Linked DNA regions of Homo sapiens: regions 1 and 3 are each linked to region 2. Evidence: promoter capture Hi-C in 16 types of primary human blood cells and fetal thymus (Javierre and others, 2016). All regions are on one chromosome and are shown on one strand. Each heading gives the region's core, a stretch centred on a gene start or on the middle of the fragment in contact. The rest is flanking DNA. Distances are from core to core; before and after follow the strand shown. Region 1 has its middle 13 kb from the start of MIR130AHG. Region 2 holds the start of PRG2 (proteoglycan 2, pro eosinophil major basic protein). Region 3 overlaps UBE2L6 (ubiquitin conjugating enzyme E2 L6).

Region 1 (3,926 bases), core at 1,147-3,646, 240 kb after region 2:
CACCCCTGGGTCTTCTCCAGTCCTTCTCCTACCCCAGGATGCCCCAATTCACTATCTTAGGTTTAAAGGGCCTGCTCTGTGACTGGGCATTTCCTCTTGGAAGTCCCACAAGTACCTCTTCCTCATCTTGTCTCCTAAGTCAACTTAAAAGTCAAAGTCTTTCAAAACCTTCTTGCTGATCAGTAGCAGGATTGTGCCTAAGAATAGGTACTGCACTCCAGCCTGGGCAACAAAGGCAGAACGCGTCTGCTTATAATAGTAATTTTTTAAAAAGCCGAAGTTGGCCAGGTGTGGTGGCTCACACCTGTAATCCCAGCACTTCAGGAGGCTGAGGTGGGCAGATTGCTTGAGCCCAGGAGTTCGAGACCAGCCTGGGCAACATGGCAAAAACCCATCTCCACAGAAAGTACAAAAATTAGATGGGTGTGGTCGTGCACACAGCTACTCTGTGGTCCCAGGTACTCAGGAGGCTGAGGTGGGAAGATCACCTGAGTCCTGGGAGGTGGAGATTGCAGTGAGCCGAGATCACATCACTGCACTCCAGCCTGGGCAACAGAGTGAGACCCTGTCTCAAAAAATAAATAAATAAAAAGAACCAAAGTCTATATTAGTCCCAGAGTAGACTAATATAGTAGACCAAATACCATTCCCAAGGGCTATGGGTTAGGGGCTTAGCAGAAAATGCATGGCAACAGGACCACCAGGGTGAGGATGGTTCCTGTCCATGGACCACGATGGTGTGGTCATGGTCACAGTGAGCCTGTCTGCCGGCTGGCTTCAGGGAGCAGCATCAGAGCCGATTCCTACTCTGCTGCTACAGCCAGACTGTCAGGCCTGGAGCCCCAGTCCCTGGCCATCTAGCTCTGCTTCATCAGAACTGAGTTTCCTGGCGATTCCTCTGGGGCCCAGAGTGAACCTCACTAGAACACTTGCCCTCTTGCTGAAATAATTTTTAAAATCTCCTAGGAGGCAGGGACCGTATCTTTTTGTCATTATCCTCTGTTCTGAGCATGGAGCCTGGAACCTACAGAGTTGACACTCAGTACATATTAGCTAAAATAAAATGAAGCAAAACAAAACAGAACAAAAATGCATTTCCAGATCCTATTTATTTATTTATTTATTTATTTATTTATTTATTGAGACAGAGTTTCGCTCTGTTGCCCAGACTGGAGTGCAGTGGCACGATCTTAGCTCACTGCAACCTCTGGCCTCCTGGGTTCAAGTGATTCTCTTGCCTCAGCCTCCCAAGTAGCTGGGATTAGAGGCACACGCCACCACGCCCGACTAATTTTTGCATTTTTAGTAGAGACAGGGTTTCACCACGTTGGCCAGGCTGGTCTCGAACTCCTGACCTCAAGTGATCTGCCCGCCTTGGCCTCCCAAAGTGCTGGGATTACAGGCATGAGCCACCAGCCTGGTCTCTACAGATCCTGTTCATTTAAATGCTGCCATTCTTCTAAGCCCAGTGCAATTCTCCAACAGTGTTTTCTGCTTTTCCCAGCCAATAGCACCTCCTCCATCTTTAGACATAGTGCTGAACTTACACTGCCATGTAAAATCAGTAGCATGTACACAAATATTTGGCTTTCCCCTCCAACCACTAGGAAACTCCTTGTGAATCTGATTCAGGACATCTCTGGTCCCACCTATGCCTATAAATGGTCAGCAAACACTTTTGATTCAAAGTGTGCAGTGTCTATATTTGAGCAAAGTTTTGTTTTGTTTTGTTTCGTTTTGTTTAGAGACAAAGTTTTGCACTTGTTGCCCAGGCTGGAGTTGGCACAATCTTGGCTCACTGCAAGCTCCGCCTCCTGGGTTCAAGCAATTCTCCTGCCTCTGCCTCCCAAGTAGCTGGGATTACAGGCACCTGCCACCATGCCCGGCTAATTTTTTGTATTTTTAGTAGAGATGGGGTTTCACTACGTTGGCCAGGCTGCTCTCAAACTCCTGACCTCAGATGATCCACCCGCCTCAGCCTCCCAAAGTGCTGGGATTACAAGTGTGAGCCACCGCACATGGCCAAGCAAAGTTTTTTATTTTACAATGATGACATTAATGTTATTCTTATTTTATGTATCTCCTCTGGAGACTGGTGGAGCTAGGAATACCAAAGCATAGCTTCTCATAGTCATTATCAGCTAGGGTTTTGCCTTACAAATTATCTTTCAACTAGAGGAATTATACCTCTGTGTTTGGATGTTCTTTCCTCCTCCCTGCTGCCCCGTGTCTTTGATTCTTGGGATCAGGACTCCATGGCTTTAGTCAGAAGGGGTGAAGATGATTCTTACCCTTTAAGTAAGTAAGCACCTGGAGTCTGGAATTGTTCTAGGATTAAACAAGGCCACAGCCCTGTGAATTGCCTTATCTACTCAAATAGGCCGTCTAAAGAGAATCTATACTTTGTTATCGTCCTAGAGGCCTTCTTGCTTTCCACTAATTTATACATATTATCTACTGGCCAGGTGCGGTGGCTCACGCCTGTAATCCCAGAACTTTGGGAGGCCAAGGCGGGTGGATCACCTGAGGTCATGTGTTCAAGACCAGCCTGGCCAACATGGAGAAAGCCCATCCCTACTAAAAATACAAATATTAGTCAGGTGTGGTGGTGCACACCTGTAATCCCAGCTACTCAAGAGGCTGAAGCAGGAGAATCGCTAGAACCTGGGAGGCCAAGGTTGCAGTGAGCCGAGGTTTCCATTGGTTACTTGGTGTACGCCTTATGTAAATGAAGAGGATGAAGGAAAGTTACAAAGTCATTTACTCTGTGTACACCCTATGTAAACAAGAGGATATTTCCTGTCACAGCTGAAGTGTTTCCATTTGATTTAGTTCTAGAAAGTCCTTAGGTTCTCTGCCTCCAGGCCCTATTCTCCTGCCTCAATCATAGATCACTGCAGCCTTGAGGTCCTGGGCTCAAGCTCAGGTCCCACCTCAGCTTCCTGAGTAGCTGGGACCACAGGCCCGCACCACCATGCCCAGCTATTTTAATTTTTTTTTTTTTGAGATGGAATCTTGCTCTGTCGCCCAGGTTGGAGTGCAGTGTTGCGATCTCGGCTCACTGCAACCTCCGCCTCCTGGATTCAAGCAATTCTCTTGCCTCAGCCTCCCGAATAGCTGGGACTACAGGCGCCCACCACCACGCCCAGCTAATTTTCGTATTTTTAGTAGAGACGGGGTTTCACCATATTGGCCAGGCTGGTCTCGAACTCCTAACCTTATGATCCGCACGCCTCAGCCTCCTAAAGTCCTATTTTTTTTTTTTAAGAGGCCAGGTGTGGTGGCTCACACCTGTAATCCCAGCACTTTGGGAGGCCAAGGCGGGTGGATCCTCTGAGGTCAGGACTTCTGCCATTTTCCCATTCATTTATTCAAGTTTTAATTGAGTACTTACTTGTGCTAGGCACTGTTGTGGCAGCGGACAAACTGTTCAACAAGACAGAGCTCTTGTTCTCTGAACTTTAATGGACTGGTAATGTCTCCCTTCACTTCTCTCCATGTGATATGAAGTGTCCCAGTGTGTGTAGGGGATGTGGGAAAACAATTGAAATGTGGGGAAAATTTTGAAATGTGGCCGTGGAAGACTGATTTTCTCTTGCCTAAGATTTCCTTAGAATGTCCACTTTGGAGTAATGTGGGAGACAGTCCTGCCCTGGCTTATCTTGGGGTTTGGGATTAGGTCAGGGCTACATTATGAAATCAGTAAATTCTCCTAAGAATCCACAAACCAGACTAGTTCTTTCAGTTTCTCCAGGGTCCAAAGAGCTGTAGCTACCAAAAAGAGATCCCTGGCACTAATTAACTGGCAAATGTGGTAAGTTCACCACTGAGGACCTACATTTTCTAAACTAAAATCATGGCACAAGGTCTCAGAAGTCTCCATATTTATGGGATCCGCTAAAACTGAAAATTTTGAATCAAAGCTC
Region 2 (4,016 bases), core at 1,025-3,524:
ACTTGGACCCAAACCTCCTGATTCTAAATCCTTAGCTCTTCCCTGAATGCCCAGGCAGCCCCCTCAGTGTTGTCTGTGGGTGTCCATCTATCCCTGGTTCTTCTGGAGATTATACAGGAGAAAAACAGACAAATCTGATGCAAGCTGAGTGCTGGCTGAGATCAGCAGGTGCACCCCATTTAGTGTTCACACTTCTCTTACCGAGCCTGTGATCCTGCCTCCAATCCAGACTTGACCCTGGTTGAGCGCGCTGACAGAACACTGGATTCGATAATTAATATTGAAGTTGTGGATGGAAACCAGGTTGCCCCTGTAGCACCTCCGGCAAGTAAACTACAGGGCAGGATAAAAGACAAAGAATGGAGCATCCTTCCTACATGAATTCACATGGGTCTTGAGTCCCCACAATTCATTCCCTCCCTCCCCTGCCACAACCATTTGAAGGTTGGAGACCAAAATGCAACTTCTGTTTGTAGGTGGCCCTCCCCTCTTACCCCAACACCTCTCTGAGGCTCAGGTTCTACTGACACCCCCAGGGCCCTCAATGGGAAAAAGAGCCAGTGATAGCAATGCTGGGGGCATATCCCACACCCGTTCCATGCTCCCACCTCAGCCTCAGCCATAGGCCACTCACCCAAGCTTGACTAAACGTCTGAAGACTTCTCACCAGGAGGTAGCGGCAGGTCTGGCACCCAGGGATGCCCACCACTTTTACTGTGTCCTCTTCCTCAGGACACGTAAGGTTTTTGTCCACCATATCTGGCACTGAGATAGACTCAACAGCCCCATCTTTCTTGGAGGCATCTTCACTTCCAGAGCCCCACTCCTCCTCTTCCTCCAGCTCCCTGCAAGGGGTCTCCTCCATCTCCTGCTCTGGTGTCTCCTCATCCTCAGGCAGCGTCTTAGCACCCAAAGGGGTCTCAAAGGTGGAAGTCTCAGACCCTGGCAGGGAGGATAGCTAAGTGTCCTTCCTTCACATCTCCCCTTGTTCCTCCCCAGAACCACAGACAGCTCACACCTTGCCCTGGGCATCAGAGTGCTCAACTCTGCCTGGGAAGGGGAACCTGGAACCCAGTCTCTATGAGGGGAACCCAAGCTGCCTGACAAGGTCAAGGTGGTTAAGAGCATGGACTTAGAGTCGGGCAGTCATGGGCTTGGGTACTGGTTCCATCATCCACCAGCTGTATTTCTGTGAAATGGGTATACAATACCACCTACTTCATGGCGATGCTAAGAGAGTTAAAGGAGAGAAGGCACTCAGTAAGCTCAAAGTAAGCATAATGGAGAAAGGACAAAATTGGGAATGTCACAGTAGAACCAAGACCACAGACATAACAGACGCCTTGAGAAATCCTTTCAACTCCTGGCCATAGAGTCCCCATCCCTTTAAGCACACAGAAATTCAGAAATAGAAGACGATCAAAGAAGGGGGTGGGTGTGTAACTCTGACCCCATCTACCATAGAAAGGGAAAAAACAGAGAAAGAAAGACTGAAGGCAAAAAACACTTACTTAGATGAAGAGCAGAAACTGCCCCAAATAGAAGAGCCAGAAGTAAGGGGAGTTTCATCTTGGCTTTATCCTGCAACGGAGAACACAGTTTGTCATTGACACACACAGACACACATGCACACACATCACAATCACACCATTAGGGGACCGTGGGAGTGAGGTGGAGAAAAAGAAGGCCTGAATAGAAATCAGGATGGGCCAGAAAAGCTCATGCCAAGCCCAGCTCCTGATGCTCCAGGATCCAGGACGCAAGGACCTCTTTCTAAACAGAACGCAGCAAACCCTGAGGGGTGGCTGAGGCTGGCTTTCCTTCAGGCCCGGAAGTAAAGAAGGGACTATTACGCTTATTTGTTTGTACTTAATGGGTCCCTCAGAGTCTATGACATAAAAAAGGCGGGAGAAGCAATGATTATTGGCTTTCCTAGGAACACATAGGACTTAGAAGGTATGTCCCCTCCTCAGAGTTCAAGAAGCCACCCACACCCTCCTCCATGTCTCCACCATCTCCTTTCCCCAGCCAAGGAGCACTTTCACATCCCGCAGAAGGAATGTGCAAGGCAGAGGATGAAGGCTGCCCCTGCTGACATCCTCATAACCTGAAAGCCACAGGTAGACGCCTGCCAGCCCTCCAGAAACTGTCAGCCACAGCCAGGGACCTCCTGGGAGAATAAACTGTCACCAGCTCCACCACAGCAGAGAAAGCACTCACCCACCCAGAGACCTTCCTGGGTCTTTAGATCTTCCCAAAGCCCAGGTCCTTCTTTGCTTCCTCTCACAAAGACTTCTTATATAGAGGCCTTGGAGGAACTTCCCCCAGGGAGAGAGAGTTTGCCTCTGTCAGAGGGAGATAGCAAGGCTGATAAGGACCATTTCATCACTTCCCTGGGGAGCCCACTCATTCATTCAGTGAAGATTTCTCTCCCGATACCCACTTCAGGAACCCAGGGGCCATCTGGAACAGCTCTGGGCAATGGTTCTTATCCTGGGCTACACTTCAGAATCGCCTTGGGTGCTTTTCCAAAATACATATCTCCCCTGTTTTACTGGTGTTTTGAACTGCCACAAACATTTTGAGAACAAATCTGTCCATACCTATTAAAATAAAAAAATGCACATTTGATCAGTTTCACTCTTTTGAGACTATCCTTTAGGCATAAATGCGCCTATAAGTAATAAAACTTTTACAGAGTTATGTTATTCCTTGACTATTTGTAGAAATGAAAACAATATTGATATCCATCAATCGGACACTGAGTAAAATGTGTCCTCTCTATTCTACAGAATGTTATATGGCTATGAAAAGAAGAGCTGGACCTGTATCTATAAACCTGAAGAGATGTTTCTGTGACATGAAGTGAAAAAAGGCAAGATACTGAGGAAAGTATTTAGTATGTGAATAGTTTTACAAGGAAAAAAAAAACCCCCGCATAGGTGCTTATCTGTGAGCATCCTTATGTGACCATTGATGGAGGGAATGCTAAAAGGAATCACACCAAATAGTTGACCTTGTTGCCTCCAGAAGCAGGGGAGGAGAGGGAAGAAAGCAGGAGACAGATTGTTGTTTATCTTCTTTTTATAACTTTGCATTTCTTCAGTGGTTATGGTAAATGCGTGCTGAATCTGTAATTTTGAGGCTGCCTTATTAAAGATTTTTAAAAATATGCAGATGCCCTGCCCAGAAACTTCTGCTTGGCTAATAGGTCTAGCGTGAAGGTCAGATGTCTGCATTTTTTTAAAAGCTTCCCAGCTGACTGTGATGGAAGATGGGTCTAGGAGTCACTGTCCTGAGGATCTTCAAGTACAGGAAATGTTCACGTATGTCTAACTTCTTTCCTTCTGAATCAGACCACTCAGTTGGCCAACCTACCAGCCTTCATTATGGTAACATTTACTGAACATTTTTAAATGCCATGCATGGCAAGTGGCTGGATGCAGTGGCTCATGCCTGTGATCCCAGCACTTTGGGAGGCTGAGGTGGGTGGATCTTTTGAGGTCAGGAGGTTGAGACCAGCCTGGTCAACATTGCAAAGCCTTGTCTCTACTAAAAATACAAAAATTAGTCAGGCATAGGGGTGGCTGCCTGTAATCCCAGCTACTTGGGAGTCTGAGGCAGGAGAATCACTTGAACCCAGGAAGTAGAGGTTGCAGTGAGCTGAGATTGCACCACTGCACTCCAGCTTGGGCGAGAGAGTGAGACTCCGTTTCAATCAATCATCAATCAACAAAATACTGTTCATGGCAAGTATTACCTCATTTAACCTGATTTTAAAAACCTAGTGAGGTAGGTGGTTGATACCCCATTTTCCAAGTGAGACAACCCAGGCTCTGTGTGGCTCCTGATCTCCCCGCAACACTGCCCTTATTGGATCGATGCCCTGTATACACCCTCTTGTAGCTCCAGGGGCTTGTCCTTATCAGTTAGTCATTTTACTTTTCTTGTGAGATTACTTGGTTAATGGATTAACATCTGTCTTCCTTCGTGATGGTGAAGGCTGCATCTCTTTA
Region 3 (2,500 bases), core at 1-2,500, 170 kb after region 2:
CTCCAGAGTGAGACTCTGTCACCAAAAAAAAAAAAAAGGAAAGAAAAGAAAAGAATTTGATCCCCAATGTTGGAGGTGGGGCCTACCAGGAGGCGTATGGGTCCTGGGGGCAGACCTCCCACGAATGGCTCCGTGGAATGGCTCCGTGCCAACCTCACAGTCATAAGAGAGTTCTTACTCTATTACTTACTGAAAAAGCTGGTTGTTTAGAAGATCCTGGCACCTGCTCGCTCTCTCTCTCTTTCACTTCTTCTCTTGCATGTGATCTGTACACGTGGCTCCCCTTTGCCTTCCACCATGAGTGGAAGCTTCCTGAGGCCTCATCAGAAGGAGATGCTGGTGCCATGCTTCTTTTTTTTTTTTTTTTTGAGATGGAGTTTCACTTTGCTGCCCAGGCTGGAGTGCAATGGCGTGATCTCGGCTCACCGCAACCTCTGCCTCCTAGGTTCAAGCGATTCTCCTGCCTCAGCCTCCCAACTAGTTGGGATTATAGGCATGCACCACCACACCCAGCTAATTTTGTATTTTTGGTAGAGACAGGGTTTCTCCATGTTGGTCAGGCTGGTCTTGAACTTCTGACCTCAGGTGATCCGCCCTCCTCGGCCTCCCAAAGACATGGGATTATAGACGTGAGCCACCATGCCCAGCGCCATGCTTCTTGTACAGCCTGCAGAAGCTTGAGCCAAATTAACCTCTTTTCTTTATATATTACTCAGCCTCGGGTATTCCTTTACAGCAACACTAATGGACTAAGACAGGGGTATCAGTGTGTCCTGCCTGAAGGGGCTTCTTTCTGGGCTTCGTAGGACTTAACAGAGGAAGGAGGTAGCAGAGTCATGGAGCTGAGAGCTCCGGGGACCTGTCCCAGCTCTGCCTCGGGCTTGCTGTATGACTGAGCTTTCTCTGAGGATCAGTTTCCTCGTCTGTAAAATGGAGAAGCTGGACCAGAGGATTCCATGCTGTATCTTACAGTCAGTTGAGAAAGTCCCACTACCTTCTAAGTTCTAGGTTAAATAAAGGATTTTGCTACTTTATTTTGTTTTGTTTTTTTGAGACAGAGTTTTGCTCTTGTCATCCAGGCTGGAGTGCGATGGCCCAATCTCAGCTCACTACAACCTCCAACTCCCGGGTTCAAGTGATTCTCGTGCCTCAGCCTCCTGAGTAGCTGGGATTATAGGTGCCCACAACCATGCCCAGCTAATTTTTGTATTTTTACTAGAGACAGGGTTTCACCATGTTGGCCAGGCTGGTCTCAAACTTCTGACCTCCAGTGATCCACCCACCTCAGCCTCTCAAAGTGCTGGGATTACAGGTGTAAGCCACCGTGCCCGGCCTGCTACTTTTTAAAAAATTTTGAAAACTATTCATTTTTCATGGAGTGGTTAAAAGAGAAGACCCTGGAGTCCGCTGAATTCCACTCCTGCCACCTTATTCTGAGTGACCCCAGACCAGTTACTTAACCTCCTTGGTTTCCATCTCTGCAATTTTAAGAGGAAGACAACCTTCCTCACTGGATGGTTGAGAGGATTCAATATGACCTCATATGTCGTGTGCTTAAAACAGCACTTGGTCCACAGGAAACTCTCAAGGAATGAGAATTTTACTATTAGCTTCGAAAGACTCATCGAGCTGAATCCTTCCATGACCAAGATGTGACAAGTGGGGCCACTTTGGTGAACACATAAACTGAGACTGAGCCTTTGAGGAGGAATTTGTGTGCTATTCCAAAAGACCTTTCCTGGTTCTCCTTCCTCTGCCAGTCAACCATCCCCTCCTTTATGGCCTCACCAGGCACCTTCAGGCCCCCTTAGCTGATGACTTACATCAAGCTTTGGTCCTCCAGCTCTGGGATTCCTCCCAAGTATCATGTTTCTTCAGGACTCCTATATGGCTGGAAGGTCTGTGGCCAGTTCCTGGGGCGCACTTAACCACCTTGGTCTTGCCAACTATTGAGGTCCTCTGATTTCATAGTACTCTGCCAAACGAGACCTTTCCTAGGTTTTCCTATCACCCCTGCTTTCATCATCTCAAAGTTGGTCTCCTTGGAGATATAATCAGTCCCTGGAGCTCCTTTGAGCATCTTCTCCCGGCACCTGAGGCCTAGAACAGGTGTCCTCACTCTAAGCCAGGTAAGTGGATCGTTTCAACACAGTAACCCAAGGGACTTGACAGAGGTTCCCATGTTGACCTGACTCAGGCCTTTCTCTACTTTTCTGGACTATAGGTCAGTTTAAAGAGAAGACGACACAACCTAGGCCACTGCATTGTCAATAAAAAGTAAATCCTGCCGGGTGTGGTGGCTCCACCTGTAATCCCAGCACTTTAGGAGGCCGAGGTGGGCAGATCACTTGAGGCCAGGAGTTTGAGACCAGCCTGGCCAACATAGCAAAATCCTGTCTCCACTAAAAACACAAAAATTAGCCAGGCATAGTGGCACGTGCCTGTAGTCACAGCTACTCAGGAGGCTGAGGCAGGAGAATCGCTTGAACCCCAGAGTGGA

The links. The method cuts DNA at HindIII sites, captures the fragments that hold promoters and counts their contacts. A CHiCAGO score of 5 or more calls a contact.
Region 1: a fragment that was not itself captured here is called in contact with the fragment with the promoter of PRG2 in region 2 in 1 of 17 cell types (neutrophils); the score reaches 5.7 in neutrophils.
Region 3: a contact is called between a fragment that was not itself captured here and the fragment with the promoter of PRG2 in region 2, in 1 of 17 cell types (M1 macrophages). The highest score is 6.6, in M1 macrophages.

The regions. Positions count from the first base shown.
Region 1 is chr11:57,623,426-57,627,351 of GRCh38, forward strand. No RefSeq gene overlaps it. Among named protein-coding and RNA genes, the nearest start is that of MIR130AHG, 13 kb to the right of the region's middle. The HindIII fragment of the contact is 8,519 bases long and covers 1-3,926 here.
Region 2 is chr11:57,388,376-57,392,391 of GRCh38, forward strand. It overlaps PRG2 (proteoglycan 2, pro eosinophil major basic protein), which reads right to left and starts at 2,275. Exons shown (of 6, transcript NM_002728.6): 1 at 2,221-2,275; 2 at 1,512-1,581; 3 at 635-942; 4 at 202-333. The coding sequence starts at 1,569. The HindIII fragment of the contact is 2,611 bases long and covers 638-3,248 here.
Region 3 is chr11:57,557,045-57,559,544 of GRCh38, forward strand. All of the region lies in intron 2 of UBE2L6 (ubiquitin conjugating enzyme E2 L6), which reads right to left. Among named protein-coding and RNA genes, the nearest start is that of UBE2L6, 9.4 kb to the right of the region's middle. The HindIII fragment of the contact is 1,153 bases long and covers 675-1,827 here.